Regions from separate parts of the Homo sapiens genome. Here all the other regions are linked to region 3. Evidence: promoter capture Hi-C in human tissues and cell types (Jung and others, 2019). All regions are on one chromosome and are shown on one strand. The core of a region is centred on a gene start or on the middle of the fragment in contact, and the rest is flanking DNA. Distances in the headings are between cores, read along the strand shown.

Region 1 (4,047 bases), core at 1,172-3,671, 200 kb after region 3:
ATCTACCCACTTTGGCCTCCCAAAGTGCTGGGATTACAGGAGTGGGCCACCGCACTGGCCTTTTTTTTTTTTTTTTTTTTTTTTTTTTTTTTTTTTTTGAGACAAGGTCTCACTCTGTCGTCCAGGCTGAGTGCAGTGGGGCAGTCGTTGCTCACTGTAGTCTCAATTTCCCAGGCTCAAGCAGCAATCTTCCCACCTCAGTCTCTCAAGTAGCTGGGGACAACAGGTGCACGCCACCACACTCAGCTAATTTCTTTCTTTCTTTCTTTTTTTTCCCAAGACAGAGTCTCGCACTGTCCCCCAGGCTGGAGTGCAGTGCTGCAATCTCAGCTCACTGCAACCTCCGCCTCCTGGGTTCAAGCGATTCTTCTGCCTCAGCCTCCTGAGTAGCTGGGACTACAGGCACACCACCACACCCAGCTAATTTTTGTATTTTTAGTAGAGACGGGGTTTCACAATGTTGGCCAGGATGGTCTCGATCTCTTGACCTTGTGATCTGCCCGCCTCGGTTTCCCAAAGTGCTGGGATTACAAGCATGAGCCATCGCATCTGGCCTATATTTTATATTATATATATATAATTTATGTAGATACGTGTTTTGTTTTCATTTCTGTGGGTAATTTGGAAATCCTCTCCCTTAACCCCTTAAAGAAGGCCTTTAGGTTCTCTAGTTAAAGGGTTCTAAGCTTCACATCCAAAAATCAAGTTTCCAGGCACTCAGAAGACAATTTCCAAATAAACCTTTTTTTCCTTTTTTTTTTTTTTTGAGACGTAGTCTCGCTCTGTTGCCCAGGCTGGAGTGCAGTGGCGTGATCTCGGCTCACGGCAGCCTCCGCGTCCCTGGTTCAAGCAATTCTCCTGCCTCAGCCTCCCAAGTAGCTGGGATTACAGGTATGCACCACCACACCCGGCTAATTTTTATATTTTTAGTAAAGATGGGGTTTCATCATGTTGGCCAAGTTGGTCTCGAACTCCTGGCCTCAGGTGATTTGCCCACCTCGGCCTCCCAAAGTGTTGGGATCACAGGCATGAGCCACCAAGCCGGGCGGAAACTTTTTTTATTGTAGAGATGAGGTCTCATTATATTGTCCAGGCTGCTCTCGAACTCCTAGCCTCAAGTAATCCTCCCACCTAGGCCTCCCAAAGTGCTGGGATTACAGGCATAAGCCACCGCACCGGTCCCCAAAGACTTTTGAAAAGTGTGGGCTCATTAGGAGAACTAATCCAGAAGGAAAAGAGATGGGAGTGAGTGCTTTAAATGGAAGAAGAAAATAATCTGCGGAGGGAAGGGAAAGTTAGAGAGGGCACCAGGCTTTTGATGGCTTATGGGACAAGTAGGGACCTAAGGCTCCACTTGCATATAGCACACCAGGATGTGGAGAACGTCGTAGGCGACTGTCCACTATGTACCTTGCCTTTGAGAGTAGTGGCAAGGGTCTCTTTGAGCAAGTCTGGAGTGGTAGAAGAAGCCATCCTAATGATGCAACCAACGTGGATTAAGGATCTGGTCTCTACCTCACTTTTTGAAGGAAGAAACACTTAATTGGCAATAATGACGGCGAAACAAAACAAACACAATTCAGAAAAAGCAGTAAAATATGTAAAAAGAGCTAAAATGCTGCTTAAGATTTCCCGTACCAACAATGTCAACCGTTTTAGAACCGACTGGAATATATGTAATACTGGAAATATATATACTGGAAACAACTTCTTGTGTTCCCTGATGTCTGGGACCCTTTTCTTTGCTAGACTTCAGATCTCTGATCTGAACCATCCCTCTTAGTTCAAGTACTCCAATCGCCTTCAGTGTTTCCACCAAGCCGTCCTTCCTCAATTTCTCCCTCCAGGTTTCCCTTCCCCAACTTTCCCCCTGCATCAGACTCTCCCTCAGCCTTCCTTTCTCCCTGTGCAGTCTGTCTCACTCCTGTCTTCCTCCCCAGGCGGTCTCAATTCTCTCTCCCTCCCCTTTCCGTGACCCTCTCGGCAGTCTTTTACTTCCTTACTTCGGTGACCGCCCCCCACCCCACTCCCCACAGCCTCCCTCCACTGCTCAGCCGTTGGAGAGGGCGTGGCCCCGCGAGTAACAGGTCTCCCGCCCCACACTCCGCGGGCCCGCGCGCAGACAAAGACATTCCACAGCTCCCGCCCCCTCCACGCCAGAAAGGGGAGGAGACACGTGTTCCGCTAGCGCCGAGTCACGTGGAAAACGAAACGAACGGAGCCCACTGCCTCCCGCGCATGCGCATCAAGCTCTGGCCTGGCGGGAGCGGAGGGAAAGCCAGAGTCGGGAGGCGACTTCTCGGACGCCGCGGCGGTGCGCAGGCGCCGTGGCCGGACTGGGGACTTTGTTCTCCGCGGAGAAACCCAAGGGCGGTGCCGGTGGCTGGCTGCGCACGCGCGCCGCCTCATTTCCGGTGCTCTCTCTCGCTGGGTCGCTCGGGTCGGCTTCGGTCGCTACCGCTCCCGCTCTGCCACCCCCGCCAACCGCCGCTCGGGCCTCCGTCGCTGCCGCGTCGCTTTCTCGCTCCTTGGATCGCACATCCTCCCAGATGCAGCGCCGGGACGACCCCGCCGCGCGCATGAGCCGGTCTTCGGGCCGTAGCGGCTCCATGGACCCCTCCGGTGCCCACCCCTCGGTGCGTCAGACGCCGTCTCGGCAGCCGCCGCTGCCTCACCGGTCCCGGGGAGGCGGAGGGGGATCCCGCGGGGGCGCCCGGGCCTCGCCCGCCACGCAGCCGCCACCGCTGCTGCCGCCCTCGGCCACGGGTCCCGACGCGACAGTGGGCGGGCCAGCGCCGACCCCGCTGCTGCCCCCCTCGGCCACAGCCTCGGTCAAGATGGAGCCAGAGAACAAGTACCTGCCCGAACTCATGGCCGAGAAGGACTCGCTCGACCCGTCCTTCACTCACGCCATGCAGCTGCTGACGGCAGGTAAGGGGGCCTCCCGTGTCCCTCTGGGTCGCCCGGCCATCCCGGGCATGAGTGGCCCTGGCTTTGTTCCTCTCGCTTCCCGCCCCCTCGGGACCGAGGCAGTCGGGAGTTCCGGTCTCATCCTCATTTTTGGGAGCCTGGATTCCACATTCCCACCTCAGCCCGGAGTGCGTGGGAGAATTTCTAGGCTGCAGTGGAGGCCCGAAGGCGACTTTGCGATCCCCTAGCGCTAATGTCTTGATGGATAGTGCTGAGCTCCCCGCCCCTTTCCCGACTCTTCCCTCCTCCCTCCTCTTGCGGCTGCCGGGCGCGCAGATTCTTCCAGAAATGAACCTTCATTTCCCCCTTTCCCTGAAGGGAAACCCTTTTTGATCGCGGGTGGCGATGAGCGCCTCGACCGAGGTGTAGGAGGTGAAGACAGCCAGAGCGGGGAGGGACCGTGGGAGGAAGGGCCGAGGTGAGGTGGGGTGAGGCTGGAATGCCCTGTCCAGTGCCTTGCTGTCGCTGGGGCCGAGCCGGACTTAGCGGTAACCGCAGCTTAAGTTGCTGGGAGGAAGGAGCGATTTATGTGGATCGGAGCTTGAGGTTTCCGAATCAGATTTCCGACTAAGGCTGATAAAATAAGAATTGCTACTGAGCCATTTTACACCGTGTGTTCACTGTCGTTGAAGGAGTGAAGTAACCCTAGAGACAGTGAAATGGGACGATAGGGACTCCCGCGTAGTTCACATGACGTTTCCCAACGAGATGGACAGAAATTGAGAGAAGTTGCATGATGCTTGTACTGAAAGGCTTGGCCTTTTTGTTGCTGTTTTTTACATTTTTGATTCAGTAGTGAAATAGATTAGAAATGAGAGTCTTTGTTCTGTAGGTTAGCGCTCTTTTCCTCATCAGCACTGGCCAATCACCTAGTCGCTCTGATTTTTCCCTAAAGCTGTCTGACTTTCGCTTCTAGTTAAAATATTATTTTAATATTTTTTATGATACCTAAATTTTACTAAGCAAGTAAAAATTCACATCCTTCAACACTGAATGAGTAGTTGGACTCTTTGGCAAGGTTAATATAATGGACAGTTCATTATGAAAATATTATCTCCCTCCCTTTGTTCTCTGTCT
Region 2 (4,322 bases), core at 1,004-3,503, 230 kb after region 3:
AGCAACAAAGTGGCTAATGTAAATGAAAAAGACTTTATTAGAAAGGTGTTAAGGGCTCAATGTTCAGTGCGAAGGATAAAAAATCTGGTGTGGGAACTGTAGTGGCTGCAGGGAACTGGGACAACAGTGGTAGACCACAGGAACGATCTTGAAACAAGGACTGGCTCCTTGGGCACAACTCAAACTATGTTGGGTCTCTTTCTGCCTCTACTCAAGATTCAGGTTTTAGAGAGGGAATATCAGACTGGATTAGCTGAGTCACATGCGTAAGAAAAACCAGTTCCTCAAAAGGCAGTTGGTGAGTTGTTAGGAAAGGGAAATGGATGCTGGGCAGCCCAGAAACAATTGTCCAGTAATATCCATATTTTACAGAAGTAACTTAGACCTAGTGAAGTTAAGTAACTTCCCAGGGTCCCATAATTAGTATGGCTGGTACTCAAGCTCAAGATTTCTGTTGCCAAAACCTGTCATCTTAATCCTATACTATACTGTCCTTAATCTAGGGAAAGGGTATTTCTTTTTTTTTTTTGGTTTTTTTGGTTTTCTTTTGTTTTGTTTTTTTTGAGACGGAGCCCTGCTCCATTACCCAGGCTTGGCTGCAGTGGCGCAATCTCAGCTCACTGCAACCTCCGCCTCTGGGTTCAAGCAATTCTCCTGTCTCAGCCTCCCGAGTACCTGGGACTACAGGCACCTGCCACCACGCCTGGCTAATTTTTGTATTGTTTAGTAGAGACGAGGTTTCACCTTATTGGTCAGGCTGGTCTCGAACTCCTGACCTCAGGTGATCCACCCACCTTGGCCTCCCAAAGTGCTGAGATTACAGGCGTGAGCCACCACACCCGGCTGGGAAAGGATATTTCTTATACTTAGGAGGTCCTTCATAGGGATAATTGTGGTATAGAAGAAAGGATGTGGAGTTTGACTCCCTGGTTTGTGTAGTTGGGGGCTGTGACAACAGTGAGCTTTCCTGTTAATTGAAGCCATTAAGCAACTAACTGGCTGATTTTTTCTCTGCTCTGAGGTGTTAGGATTAGGATGACACTGAGGAGAAAGGCCTAACTAGGTAAGCCCTACGCATATAGAACCTTTCACAGTGAAATTTGGCTTCTTGGAATTTCTTTTTCTTCCAAGCCTGCCTCTCAGCCTGTGAGAGATCTGGAAGCTTTAAGAGAGGGGCATATGTACTGAACAAGATTCTGGGCACCTGGCAAGTCCTACGTTTGATGTTGGTCACATGAATGGCTAGGAAATTTAGCGTGGGGAATCCCTGAATGCAGAGAATTTAGTCTCAACTCTTCCTAGGGTAGTCTGAAGAAGAAAAATGGATTAGAAGTTTGGGGAAACCTTTCATTTGGACTGTGAACTGTGCTTGGAAAGGCAGGTTCTGTTTGTGGACCTAGGCCTGCTGGTGTTCTGCCTGTTCTGGACATGTAGCTTCGCCCATTGATCCAAGTGTTTTCTGTAAAATTCTATCACTCACTACCTGTGAACTTTATTTATTTATTTTAAGGTGGAGTCTCACTCTGTTGCCCAGGCTGGAGTGCAGTGGTGTGATTTCAGCTTACTGCGACCTCCACCTCCCGGGTTCAAGCGATTCCCCTGCCTCAGCCTCCGGAGTAGCTGGGATTATAGGCACACACCACCACGCCTGGATAATTTTTGTATTTTTAGTAGAGATGTGGTTTCACCATGTTGGCCAGGCTAGTCTTGAACTCCTGGCTTCAAGTGATCCGCCCACCTCAGCCTCCCAAAGTGCTAGGATCACAGGCGTGAGCCACTGTACCCGGCCAGCCTGTGAACTTTTATTACAATTCTGTAAGCTTTAGAGACAGGCAAGATTGGGTATCTGTCCTGGCTCTGCTTCATGTGAGCCTTTGTCACCTTAGTCAGAAACAAAACCCTTTCAGTGCCTCATTTATCATCAAATGAAGTTGATGATAATACCTGACATTTATCACTGTATGCATCATAATATCCTAACAGAGTTAGTAAGTATCTCATTTGGTCCCTTTCTACCTTTGTTTCTGTTTTGAGGAAAAATTCACATAGCATAAAATTTACAATTTTAAAGTGTACAATGCAGTAGTTTTTAGTATATTTATACTGTGCAACCATTTCCACTATTTAATTCCAGAATATTTCCATCACTCTAAAAACAAATCTTATATCTGCTAATAGTCACTCCCAACTCCCTTCTCTCCCCAGCTGTTGGCAGCCACTACTCTTTCTGTGGGTTTGCCTATTCTGAACATTCCATATAAATGGAATCATATAATATATGCTTTTTGGAATTGGCTTCTTTGACTTTGCATAGTGTTTGGTTCATCCAGGTTATAGCATGTAACATAGTACTTCATACTAGTCATAGGAAACATTACTTCCAAAAGCAGCCCATTTCATTAGAGATGGCTCTAAGTATTTTATCTCTCATTTTGAATGAGACCTGTACCTCAGTAATTTAAACTGAATCTGCTTTGGACCTCTGAAGCAACATCCTTTCAGGTATTTGAAGATCATTTTCATTACTGTGTCTTTCCCTTCTCTAAAAATTTTCTTGGCTGCGCATGGCAGCTCATGCCTGTAATCCCAACACCTGGGGAGGCTGAGTTGGGAGGATCACTTGAGGCCAGGAGTTCAAGACAAGCCGGGACAACATAGCAGACTCTGTCTCTACAAAAAGTTAGCTGGGCATTAGCTGGGCATGATGGCTTGCACCTCTTATCCTAGCTACTCAGGAGGCAGGGGAAGGAGGATCACTTGAGTCGAGGAGTTCAAGGTTACAGTATGCTATGATCACAACACTGTACTCCAGCCCGGGTAGAAAGTTTTTAAAATACTATTGGTCCCAATAAAATACATTTGCTGCATGCCAGATGTGGCCTTTAGCTTACCAGTTTGCAGCCTGTGGTTAGCTTCTGTTAGTATAAATTAAAGGTCATGTTAGCATTTTTAAGTGATTCTTTTTGGACAGACATAACTGTCCTAGTGGCAAAGAAGTCTAGAGTTTTGGCGGAATTTTAAAATAACAACTTTATTGAGATATAATTCACATACCATACTGTTCTCTCACTTAAAGTGTATAATTCAGTGGTTTTTAGTATATACAGAGTTGTTCAGTCATCACTAGGGCCCATTTAAAATGTCTTTATCATTCCAAAAAGAAACCCCATGCCTTTTATCTGTCTTCCACCAATCTATTTATTCCCTCCAGCCGTAGGCTACTACTCTGCTTTCTGTCTCTAAAGATGACAAGGGTTTAGCCTCCAGAAGGCTAAGTCCAAGGGTTTAGCCAGTCACAGAAGACCACTTTCTGTATGATTTCATACAAATGAAATTATACAATAAGTGGTCTTCTGTGACTGGCTTCCTTTTTGTTTTTTTTTTGTTTTTTTGGTTTTTTTTTGAGACGGGGTGTTGCTCTGTCGCTCAGGTTGGAGTGCAGTGGTGCGATCTCAGCTCACTGCAACTGCAACCTCCGCCTCCCAGGTTCAAGCGATTCTCCTGCCTTCCTGAGTAGCTGGGATTATAGGCACGCGCCTCCATGCCTGGCTAATTTTTGTATTTTTGGTAGAGGTGGGGTTTCACCGTGTTGGCCAGGCTGGTCTCGAACTCGTGACTTCAGGTGATCCGCCTACCTTGGCCTTCCAAAGTTTGGGATTACAGACGTGAGCCATCACGCTCAGCTGACTGGCCTCCTTTCACTTCGGATGTTTTCAAGGTTCATCCATGTTGTAGCATGTATCCCTACTTTGTTCTTTTTTTTTTTTTTACTGTTAAATGCGATTTCACTGTATGCATATACTACGTTTCATTTATTCATTGATCCATTGACAGGCATTTGGATTATTTCTACTTTTTGGCTATTATGAATAATACTGCTTTGAATATTTGTATATAAGTTTTTGTGTGGACATGTTTTCAGTTTCTTGGGTATATACCTAGAAGAATTTCTGGGTTCTGGGTCATACGGTGACTCTGTTTATTTTTTTATTTTTTATTTTTTTTTTTTTGAGACAGAGTCTCACTCTGTCGCCCAGGCTGGAGTGCAGTGGCACGATCTCAGCTCACTGCAACCTCCGCCTCCTGGGTTCAAGTGATTCTCCTGCCTCAGCCTCCCAAGCAGCTGGGAATATAGGCACGTGCCACCACACCCGGCTAATTCTTTGTATTTTTAGTAGAGACGGGGTTTCACCGTGTTAGCCAGGATGGTCTCGATCTCCTGACCTCATGATCCACCTGCCTCAGCCTCCCAAAGTGCTGGGATTACAGGCATGAGCCACCACGCCCGGCCTGTTTAATTTTTTTAGGAACTGCCAAATTGT
Region 3 (4,330 bases), core at 1,127-3,626:
GAGGAAACCTAGAGAGGTTAAGAAAACATCCCACAGTCATTCAGCTAGGAAGTGGGCAGAGGCAAAATTCGAACCCAGGACTCACTGACTCCAAAAGATAATGACCCCTCACAAGGATTCAGCGAATGTAGTTTATTTTCTCTTTCCCAGTTTGTGGGCCTCATTTTACCCAGTTTAGTTAATAGGGATGTGAGAATGTTCATGAAGCGCCCATCTAGCTTAGCTTTATTAAATTCCACTGCCAAGTATGGTATTGAGAAACATGGCCAGGCCCTTCCTATCCCAAACTCTCAGACTCAGCTCACCAGTCTGGGGCAGCCTCCTGGGCTGGGTTCCTCTGGCCTGTCCTGGTGGGAGTTGTCTGAGCTTCTGTCTGTGCCCCGGTCTTGGGCACAGGGCACTGGACCTTTCTTCAGGTTCTTAGTGCCCTTGGATCTTCTCTGCTCCATGAATGGGCCTGAGCAGGCCCTGCTGGCTTCAGTATCCAGGGAGGAGCTGAGGCCGCCCAAGGGCTCCCGGGAGCTGGCACAGGTGTCAGCGGGGGCAGCGAGTCCTTGCTCCAGCCTTCCCCTGGAAGCTGGCTGAGCCTTGGCCTCCAGCTCCTCCTGGTCCTGTGCTGGAGCCTGGCCTTCATCGCTGCCAGTCCGCACGACACACACAGCTTCTTGCTGCTCTGCAGAGGCCTGTGCTGACGCCCCCAGGCACAGTGCTGCGCTCTGTGGAGGAGCCTGTGCAGCTGAACTGAGGGACTCCCCTCCACTGGGCACTGGGAACCCGACAGGGCCACAGGGGCTGCCTGGCTGGGGCCCATCCCCTGTAGCGGGCAAATATCCAAATTTCTCAGTCCCTGAGGCACATCCTGCCCCACTTCCACCTGGCTCTCCAGGCCCAGACCCAGTGTCTTTTGGAGAGGGAGGTCTGCAAGGGCCTCCCAAGGACTCCAGGTCAGCAACTTGGGGAGGGTCTCCCACAGACAGGAGGTTGTCCCCACGAGGGCTCTGATCAAGCCACAGGAAGTCACCAGCCCCTTCCTCACACTCTGAATGAGCCCCTTGCCTCCTCCATTTCTTTCTTACCCTCACAGGGACTGGGTCTGGTGAGGATGTCAGGGGCCTTCCAGGGGGCTCCTCTTTGCTGAGTGTGGGGCTTCTTCTGTCACACCCTGGAGAACTCATTCCACCGTCTCTGGCCTCCCTGGGCCTGAGGCAGCTCACCTCCTCCACTCCTGCAAGCCTCTCCCTGCAGGCCAGAGCTCTCTCTGGGAGGCCAGCAGACCTGCTACAAAGTTTCCTGGGGCAACTGTCATCTAAGATGTCACACAGAGAAACCTGGAGCCTCTTGGAGGTCAGAGCTCTCCCCTGAGTAGGCACCGAGGGCAGCTGCATGTGGAGCCCAGGAGCCAGCATCGAGCCCCGGCTCTGTACCACAGCTAGCAGCTCCAAGACCCCTGGCCGGACCTCAGCAGCACCTGCAGCCCGGGAGCTGCCACCTCGAAGGGCCTCCTTCCTGGGGATCTTCCTTCTGCTGCCAGCCCTGACTCCGGGCCCAGAGCTTGCTCCCGGCCCATCTGGTGACAGGCCTGGCATGGAGCTGGCTCCTTCCATGTTCTGTAAAAGCTCACAGTTGTGTTGGGGACTGAGCACAGGGTCTCCTGTGCTGGGGCCTTCTACGTCCCCCGCCTGGGACATGTCTGTCCACCTACCTGGGCCAAAAGCACAACACGGGCCCTGTGTGGAGACAGAAAGAGGAGACTTTGTCTTGGAGAGTCCGACCTGTCAGCCCGTTCAGTGGGAACTGGGAGGAGCCCCTCTTCCAGCCAGCTCTCCCAGACCCTTCCACTCCTGAGGCCTAGGGGTGAGCACTCCAGGGAGGGGAGCACCCAGCAGGAGCTGGTGTCCTGGGTGAGGGTGGAGAGGCCTGCCTCCAAACAGGGCCGAGCTACAGTGGCCTCCAGGGTCTTCTTGTCTCTGAGAGTTCACACATTCGCTTAAATGGGACCTAATAAGATACCATTTATTTATGACTTATGTGCTTATTTCATTTCATACTGGCAGCCACAGGTGAGGACACTGAGATTCTGAGATGTTAAGACACTCACCCAAGGAAGCACAGGAAGTGGAAGGGCCAGGAGTCTCTCTCCCAGTTCTCACACTGCGCAAGGAGCAGATACTGAACGGGGTTCGTGCCCATAACCCTTCTCGTCTCTCTCCCATCGGTCCCGTTCTGAAAGGCGCCCCACCCAGGTTCCCAAGCCTTACTGGGACAGTCCCCCAGCATCCAAGAAATCCGGGCCCCATCGGTCGCGTCGCTCTCACCTGGGCTTCCCTGAGTTTTCCCTCCTGGGGTTCCACCCACTAGCTGAAAAGGAGCTGAGATCACGTGATGCGGGGGAGGGAGGCCCTTGCTGAGGGATAGGGGCGGAGTCCCTGATGATGAGCAAAAGGCTGCTCCCCAGGCGTGCTGGCGTTCCTGCCCCGGCAGAGGGCGCCCTCTTCCTCCTGAGGGCTTCCTGGAGGAGGTGCCAATCCTGGCTCCCAAGCAGAGGTAGGTGGGTGCATGGGGCAGCGAGGGGCCTTGGCTGCCTGCCTGAGAGTTTAACTTGATCCTACCGCAATAGTCCCTGAGCCAGTAGGACAATGTCAGAATTACCTAGATTTTTTGCCTAATTTTATTTTATTTTATTTTTAAACTTTTATTTTAGGGTCAGAGGTCCATATGCAGGTTTTTAATATAGGTAAACTTGTGTCACGGGGGTTGTTGTACAGATTATTTCGTCACCCAGTTATCAAGCCTAGTACCCAATATTTATTTTTTCTTATCTTCTACTGCCTCCTACCCTCCACCCTCAAGCAGGCCCCAGTGTCTGTTGTTAACCTCTTTCTGTCCATGTGTTCTCACCATTTAGCTCCCACTTATAAGTGAGAACATGCAATATTTGGTTTTTCCGTTCCTGCATTAGTTTGCTAAGGATAATGGCCTCCAGCTCCATCCACGTTCCTGCAAAGGACGTGATCTCATTCTTTTTTATGGCTGCATAGTATTCCATTGTGTATATGTACCACATTTTCTTTAGCCAATCTGCCATTGATGGGCATTTAGGTTGATTCCATGTCTTTGCTATTGTGAATAGTGCTTGCCTAATTTAAAAAGAAAATCTCAAATATAATTAATGTAGATGGAAATGCAGAATCAATTCCAATAGAAGGTTAGAAATAAAAAGTTTAAAGCTATCTCTCATTTCCCAATACCCCAACTCCTGGAAACAACTGTGTTTTGTTTTTTGTTTTTTACCATGTTTGTCATCATGTTAATTTTTTAAATTTCATAACTGTAAATAATATACTCATGCCTCTATTACTTGATTTATTAATTTTAACTGTGTCTGTTGTATCTGTTGACTTCCTGCTGTGGTGATTTTATTAACCACCCTTTCCCCCTTTCTCTTCCGCTTTTCATATATATATATATATATATATTTTTTTTTTTTTTTTGAAACAGCGTCTCGCTCTGTCGCCCACGCTGGAGTGCAGTGGCACAGTCTCAGCTCACTACAACCTCTGCCTCCCAGGGTCAAGTGATTCTCCTACCTCACCCTCCCGAGTAGCTGGGACTACAGGCACGTGCCACCATGCCCTGCTAATTTTTGTATTTTTCGTGGAGACAGGGTTTCACCATGCTGGCCAAGCTGGTCTCAAACTCCTGACCTCGTGTTCCACCCACCTCAGCCTCCCAAATTGCTGGGATTACAGGCGTTAGCCACCGTGCCTGGCCCTCTTTTTTATATTTATATTTTAAATTTTACTATTGGTTTCTATTATCACTTTGAATACTATTCTTAAATGTCTGTTTCTTCTGTATATTGTATCTCTTGACTCTTCTCTGTGTGAAATGGATAATTTCCCTTGATGTCCCCTCCCTGCTTCTGCCGTTATCCATGAACTAAGCTTTTATTTTTGTATCGCTGAGGTTTATAGCATTTACATTCTATTCGGTAAAGATAATTCAGTTTACCGTTGTTTACCTGTAGATTGATTCTTAACACTGAAAGCCAAATGACATTTATAATGTTATGATTATGTAAATACTTTTACTGCAGAAACAGTGGTGTTTGGCTTTTTTTTTTTTTTTTTTTTTTTTTGAGATAGGGTCTGGCTCTGTCGCTCAGGCTGAGTTGTGGTAGTGTAATCATAGCTCACTGCAGCTTTGACCTCCCAGGCTCAAGTGATATTCCCCTCTCAGCCTCCTGAGTCGCTGGTACTACAGGCATGCACCGCCATGCCCAGCTAATTTTTTTTTTATTTTTGGTGGAGACGAGGTCTCACTATGTGGC

Evidence for each region. The method cuts DNA at HindIII sites, captures the fragments that hold promoters and counts their contacts. A contact is called where the count stands out against the background at its distance.
Region 1: a contact is called between the fragment with the promoter of KHDRBS1 here and the fragment with the promoter of SPOCD1 in region 3, in 6 of the 25 tissues and cell types used here (IMR-90 fibroblasts, hippocampus, mesenchymal stem cells and 3 more).
Region 2: a contact is called between a fragment that was not itself captured here and the fragment with the promoter of SPOCD1 in region 3, in 1 of the 25 tissues and cell types used here (liver).

What each region holds. Positions count from the first base shown.
Region 1 is chr1:32,011,447-32,015,493 of GRCh38, forward strand. It overlaps KHDRBS1 (KH RNA binding domain containing, signal transduction associated 1), which reads left to right and starts at 2,422. Exons shown (of 9, transcript NM_006559.3): 1 at 2,422-2,931. The coding sequence starts at 2,550. RefSeq lists silencers at 2,631-2,840, 3,321-3,430 and an enhancer at 2,657-3,227. The HindIII fragment of the contact is 12,423 bases long and covers 1-4,047 here.
Region 2 is chr1:32,045,670-32,049,991 of GRCh38, forward strand. It overlaps a transcript of KHDRBS1 not described here. Among named protein-coding and RNA genes, the nearest start is that of TMEM39B, 25 kb to the right of the region's middle. The HindIII fragment of the contact is 3,894 bases long and covers 307-4,200 here.
Region 3 is chr1:31,813,646-31,817,975 of GRCh38, forward strand. SPOCD1 (SPOC domain containing 1) reads right to left here and starts at 2,377. Exons shown (of 16, transcript NM_144569.7): 1 at 2,316-2,377; 2 at 306-1,727. The coding sequence starts at 1,688. The HindIII fragment of the contact is 15,941 bases long and covers 1-4,330 here.